2 separate regions of the Homo sapiens genome follow, and region 2 is linked to region 1. The links are contacts of gene promoters, found by promoter capture Hi-C in blood cells and fetal thymus (Javierre and others, 2016). All regions are on one chromosome and are shown on one strand. The core of a region is centred on a gene start or on the middle of the fragment in contact, and the rest is flanking DNA. Distances in the headings are between cores, read along the strand shown.

The links. The method cuts DNA at HindIII sites, captures the fragments that hold promoters and counts their contacts. A CHiCAGO score of 5 or more calls a contact.
Region 2: a fragment that was not itself captured here is called in contact with the fragment with the promoter of NLRC4 in region 1 in 1 of 17 cell types (neutrophils); the score reaches 5.7 in neutrophils.

Annotation. Positions count from the first base shown.
Region 1 is chr2:32,263,315-32,266,573 of GRCh38, forward strand. It overlaps NLRC4 (NLR family CARD domain containing 4), which reads right to left and starts at 1,572. Exons shown (of 9, transcript NM_001199138.2): 1 at 1,424-1,572. The HindIII fragment of the contact is 10,627 bases long and covers 1,345-3,259 here.
Region 2 is chr2:36,961,883-36,965,141 of GRCh38, forward strand. The region is part of intron 1 of STRN (striatin); the gene reads right to left. Among named protein-coding and RNA genes, the nearest start is that of STRN, 3.0 kb to the right of the region's middle. RefSeq lists a silencer at 614-809. The HindIII fragment of the contact is 2,760 bases long and covers 212-2,971 here.

The DNA.
Region 1 (3,259 bases), core at 322-2,821:
CAAATCATGCATAATATTCACCTCCCTGGACTATTGTGAAGATTAAACATGAAAGTAGTTGTGACAAAGATGGTCAGTGGGTATTATCTGTCTTCCTTTCTAGTAAAAAGGCTCTAGACTAGAATGTTCTTAGGTCTTTAATAGGCTTCAGCAATCTCACATGTTAATATTAGTGTTATGTGCTGAACTGGGCTTCCCCCAAATCCATATGTTGAAGCCCTGAACCTCAGAATGTGACTGTATTTGCAGACAGAGCCTTTAAAGAGGTCATTAAGCTCAAATGAGGCTGTTATGAGAAGAGGAAATCGGGACACACAAAGGGAGATACCAGGAATGTGCATACAGAGAGAAAAGGCCAAGGAGGGAGGCGTGGGGAGAAGCCAACCCTGCTGACACCTTGGTCTTGGACTTGCAGCCTCCAGAACTGTGGGAATATAAATTTCTGTTGTTTAAGCCACCCAGTCTATGGTATTTTAAACACATTAATACGACTAATATTATAAAAGTGTGTGAACAGTTAAGAAGTGTGCTGACCAGGTTCTATCCTAGTTTTGTAGACAATTAGCAGTGTGATGTAGGGCAGGACATTTAACTCCTCTCTACCACATTTTCCACCTCTCAAAGCCAGGCTGCAAGGATCTACTGAGATAATGTACATAAAGACCCTATCACGAAATAGGTGTCCCGTAAAGGGTGATTTCCTTCACTTCTGTCTCCAAATATCAGGTTTCTCATCAGTAACTTGGGAGATTGGATGGACTAAGTAGTCCACCTCGTTCCTTTCAGCTTTGATCATCTGTGATTCTAACAACAGTCTTAGCAACAAGAGTGAGTTTCCTGGCCGGGCACGTTGGCTCACACCTGTAATCCCAGCACTTTGGGAGGCTGAGGTGGGCAGATCACGAGGTCAGGAGTTGAGACCAGTCTGGCCAACATGGTGAAACCCTGTCTCTACTAAAAATACAAAAATTAGCTGGGGCGCGGTGCCGGGTGCCTGTAATCCCAGCTACTTGGGAGGCTGAGGCAGGAGAATTGCTTGAACCCAGGAGGCAGAGGTTGCAGTGAGCCGAGATCACGCCACTGCAGTCCAGCCTGGGTGACAGAGCAAGACTCTGTCTCAAAAAAAAAAAAAAAAAAAGAGTGAGTTTCCTTTCTGTAATGCCAAAAAGTGTTTCCAAAGTCCTTTCCATCTCACAGTAGTCCAAGGGGTACATGTACCCCTTGAACCTGATGAAGCCCCAGCAGACCCGATTAACCACCCCTAAAGGTTTCTCGGCAGGCAAATCCAGCCAGGCATGCAAATCACACTCGTCAATGTTAAGGCTTTTGTACATCCCAGACACAAGCTTTAAATGAATGTAAACCCAGATTTTAATATTTGGGCCCCAGACCTTAAAAATCCCATTCTCTCTACCCACAGTACCTGGCTGAGCAATCCAATTGCCCTCTTCTTGGGAGACCAAGACATGTTTTTAAAATAAAGTTTCTTTGTATTTGCTTTCCGTTTCAGTGAGGCCTCGAGTTCTTGTAGACCAGATACCTTCTTGTTCTGTGAGAGGACAGTGTACAGAGAGGGGAACTGCTGAGCAGTTCCTTTTTTTTTTTTCAAAGCACAGTAAGAGTGGTTTGGACACAAGTACTACCAGTTCAGAAAGGGAAGATGGGTGTAGGCAGGAGTAGCCGGGGAAGAAGTAGAACTTCAGAGTAAAAGATGCAAGAGCTAGAAATTCCGTCAAGAAAGGAATTACTCATTTGTTTCCTGTTTGTTCACAACATATGAATTCATTGCTGTTGAGTTACTTATTCTATACCTTAAAATGAAACAAAGTCTTCTGAACATCCAACATATATTTTTTTTCTTTTTCTTTCTTTTTTCTTTTTTTTGAGACAGAGTCTTGTTCTGTCACCCAAGCTGGAGGGCAGTGGCACAATCTCAGCTCACTGCAACCTCTGCCTCCCGGGTTCAAGCGTTCCTCCCGCCTCAGTCCTCCCAGTAGCTAAGACTACAGGCGTGCACCACCATGCCCGGCTAATTTTTGTATTTTTAGTAGAGACAGAATTTCACCATGTTGGCCAGGCTGGTCTCGAACTCCTGACCTCAGGCAATCTGCCAGCCTCAGCCTCCCAAAGTGCTGGGATTACAGGCGTGAGCCACCATGCCCAGCCACAACATGTATTTTTAATGCTTAACCATGGGAGATAGAGCGGTAAATGAAATGAGCCAGCTTAGTTGGCTAAAGCACATTGCTACTGCATTCAAGGTCATGCTTACCCCTGTACCTTGAATCCCAGAGGACTTCCAGCAGATGTGTTCTCTCAGTCAGCAGGGTTCTGGGCAAGGTCACACAGGGCAAACAGATCACCAGTTTTGGTCCACTCCACCGATGACGCACGGGGACACCCTCCGGAGTATAAACAGCCAGGGGCTTGCACAGGCACACTCACATTGGACGTTTGTGTTCACAGACTCCAGGAGGCCAGCTTATACTCAGCTGAGGACTGAAGAAATCTCTCTGCACTTCCCTTGAGGATGACATTCTTGCATACTCTTTCCTCTGTCTTTGCATAAACTACCAGGAACATGTCTTTGTGTTACATAACTTCTTATTTCAAAAAGAGCATTCTGACAGTAGCCTATCTGCCATAGAGGGATACCAAAGTTTCCCGGCAAATAAATGTCTACATCCTGGGTTTTCTAAGGGGGCATCAGTGTCAGTGTTTCCCAACTTGTGAGGTGGGTTTCTCTGAAGTGAGATTGAGGGCTACACTATCAGCTAGATTTTTAAATTGTAATGAAACCTATATATAAACATATGTTCAAGAGAAAAAACTGCAAAGACAGCCACCAAAATAGTAATGATGCTTATTGCTGGGGAATACAATTATAAGCAATTTTAAATTTCTGTCTTTGGCTTATCTGTATATTCTAATTTTATTTATCAACTTATTTATTTTTTATTTTATTTGTTTATTTATTTATTTATTTATTTATTTGAGACAGAGTCTCGTTCTGTTGCCCAGGCTGGAGTGGAGTGCAGTGGCTCAATCTTGGCTCACTGCAACCTCTGCCTCCCAGGCTCAAGCAATTCTTGTGCCTCAGCCTCTCAAGTAGCTGGGATTTCAGGTGTGGGCCACCACCATGGCTAATTTTTTGTATTTTTAGTAGAGACAGGGTTTTGCTATGTTGGCCAAGCTGGTCTTGAGCTCTTGGTCTCCAGTGATCCACCTGTGTTGTCCTCCTAAAGTAATGGGATTACAG
Region 2 (3,259 bases), core at 342-2,841, 4.7 Mb after region 1:
TAAATATTCCAAGCGTGCTCCCTTCCCCCAGCTGTTCCTTCTGTGTAGAAAGCTCTTTCCTCACCTTAGAGATCACCTTTTCAGGTCTTAGCTCGAATGGCATCTTATCAGTGAATCCTTTCTTCCCCATTCCACCCTCTCAAATCCTCTTATTTTCTTTCCCAACATTCTATGTATTTATTTATCACTGTCTGCCTGCCTCAACAATTTAAGCTTCATAAGGGCAAGATCTGTATTTTTGCTGTTGTATCTCCGGTATCTAGAACAAGGTCTGGCATGAAGTAGATGCTTGAAAAATATTTGGGGAGTGAAAATACAAATTATTAATGCCAAAACCCAGAAAATACAAGTTATTAATGCCAAAACTCTAGCATACAGCCTCCACACCACATGCCCTAAGCTACTCAATCTTGCCACCTTTTTCATACAACTCTAACACTTACAGGTAAATATCAGGGCCTCTCCTACACCACACACCACACACATATCAAAATCTAGGGCCAACATTTTTTATTTTTTATTTACATGCCTGCTTTCTCATAAGTCAGTAATTTTCAAATACTGAGCCTTAGGTTCTCATGAACTCATAAAGTTCTTTACTCCTGCTATTCTCCCCATTCACTGCTGGCTCTTCTCTCCTTCACTATTCTTTTTTTTTTTCTTAAGATGGAGTCTCATTCTGTCGCCAGGCTGGAGTGCAGTGGCACGATCTCAGCTCACTGCAACCTCCGCCTCCCAGGTTCAAGCGATTCTCCTGCCTCAGCCTCCAGCACACACCACCATGCTCAGCTAATTTTTGTATTTTTAGCAGAGACAAGGTTTCACCATGTTGGCCAGGACGGTCTCGATATCTTGACCTCACGATCCGCCTGCCTTGGCCTCCCAAAGTGCTGGGGATTACAGGTGTGAGCCACCGCGCCCGGCCTCTCCTTCACTATTCTAAAGAAATTAGCCTTCTCCCCAAATGATAAACACTCTGATTCTTCTACAAGTTATATCGTACTAATAACTAGACTGCATGTTTCTTTGAGGTCATCTAGCACAATGCCTCACATACAGAAATTTTTCTCAAATATTATTAGTATTCCTTCTCCAATTCCTTTCACAAATGTAAAGCTCACTAATAATCTTAATCATTCTTTTTTTCCCCCCATGAACTACTGCCTAATCTCAACTGGATGTGAGGAGGGGAGCATTACCAAAAATAAAAAGAGAATTTATCAAATAAGATGAGCAAGAGTGAAATAAGTGACAAATAAATAGGTTTTTGCTATAACGTGGCCCTTTCCTTACTCCCAAGATCTGAAGGAGGGAGGAAGCAGTAAAGGCAGGCCAGGCAGATGAGAGCTTGGATTGCCTTTCACAAGTCTTCCCTGGCAACCTGAAAGAGCAGGACTGACAGGTTCTTGAAGAGGCAAATTTGACTTCATCTTAAAGGTATTTGTGTTGACTCTGGTGTTAATGGCTTAGGAAGAGATTTAAAAATTAAAAGGAGGACACCAACTGAGCCGTATTTCATCACAACGCATTCAACTATTTTACTTCCTATTGTGTTTCTAAGAAAATTCCAGTAGCAAAAGAAAAATAAAGAAGATTCAAATGTAACGATGGTAATAATTTTTTTTCCAATTACACTAATAAGGGGGGACAAAGACCAGAGATTACTGCAAACTCTTCCCCCCAAAATATATCATATTCATCCTGTTAGGAAAATGACACATTTTTAAAGTTTCTCTGTGGAAACTTTAATTGGAACACAAAACAGAAAATGCTGTCAAAAAAGTAGTGTCCTTGGCCGGGCACAGTGGCTCACGCCTGTAATACCAGCACTTTGGGAGGCTGAGGCAGGCAGATCACTGAGGTCAGTAGTTCAAGACCAACCTGGCCAACATTGTGAAACCCCGTCTCTACCAAAAATACAAAAATAAGCCAGGCATGGTGGTGCATGACTGTAATCCCAGCTACTTGGGAGGCTGAGGCAGAAGGATTGCTTAAACTTGGGAGGCTGAGGCAGAAGGATTGCTTAAACCTGGGAGGCGGAGGTTGCAGTGAGCTAAGACTGCACCACTGCACACCGGCCTGGGCAACAGAGCGAGACCCTCTCTCCAATAAAAGGAAAAAAAAAAAGGAGTCTCTTTAATATGATAAGCACCCATGGGAAAGCTACCTGAAGTTAATAAACATTTGCCACAAACAACCCAGGAAGGGGTGTTTGGAGATGTGTGCATAAAAACTGAAGATCAACTACAGTTACCAGTAAATTGAAAAGTTTAAACGAGGAGAGGGAGTGAACGGGGCGGGGCGGGGGGAAGGATGGGTTGGAATTCCCCAACTTCTACAGGTAGAAAGGTAAGCATTGTTTTCTGGTGTGTGTGTGTGTTTTGTTTTTGTTTTTTTTTTTTTAACCAAATTAGTGTGAGTTATCTATATTCCCAAAACTGGAAAAGAAATTAAATTTTAAGTAACTAATACAAAAATCATTCCCCACAACTGCACAACATTAAAGTTAAACTTTGCCTTTAACATTTCCTTGAATCCTGAAATCCACACCTTTTATAGAATGCGCTGCTAATAAAGATCAATCTGTAAGTATTCAAATTTGTTGGAGACTATATAAACAAGGTCAAAGAAGACTTGCAAATATCAGATAGACTAGATCGACTAAATACTACAGCAATATAACAATAGGAATGAAAAAGTTGCCAAATAATATAAACATGTAACTACAGACTTACAAGGAAATCATAGAAACTACTGGTCACTCCCTAACTTCATTCAGCTGCTCATTTGTCATCTCTCAGAGGCCTACCCTGACTACCCCATCTAAAATAGCTGCCCCTATCACACGCTATTCCTGAACTCTGACTTATTTCTTCCTCACAGCAGTTGCCACTATAAGCCATTATATTCTATAGGCGCATTTGCTGGACTGTTTGCCTCTCCACTAAAACATAAACTCCATGAGGGCAGAAGCTTGGTCGGTTTTCTTTCAACACAGGGCCTAGACACACAGCTGGCACTCAATACACAGGTGCTGAATAAAATACATGATAAAACTGAAACCCAGAGAGGTTAAAGGATTTCCTCAAGGTCACAGAGCTAGCAACAAACACAGCCCTTACTATAACCTTGTCTACTACAGCCTTGTGTGTTCGCTCTTTCCACAGCCACTTCCACTACACCAGAGCCTGTTCCAGCACATGATTCTATTTAACAGATTTCTCCTCTTCTTTTTTTTCTTAAGCGCCAAATACATGTT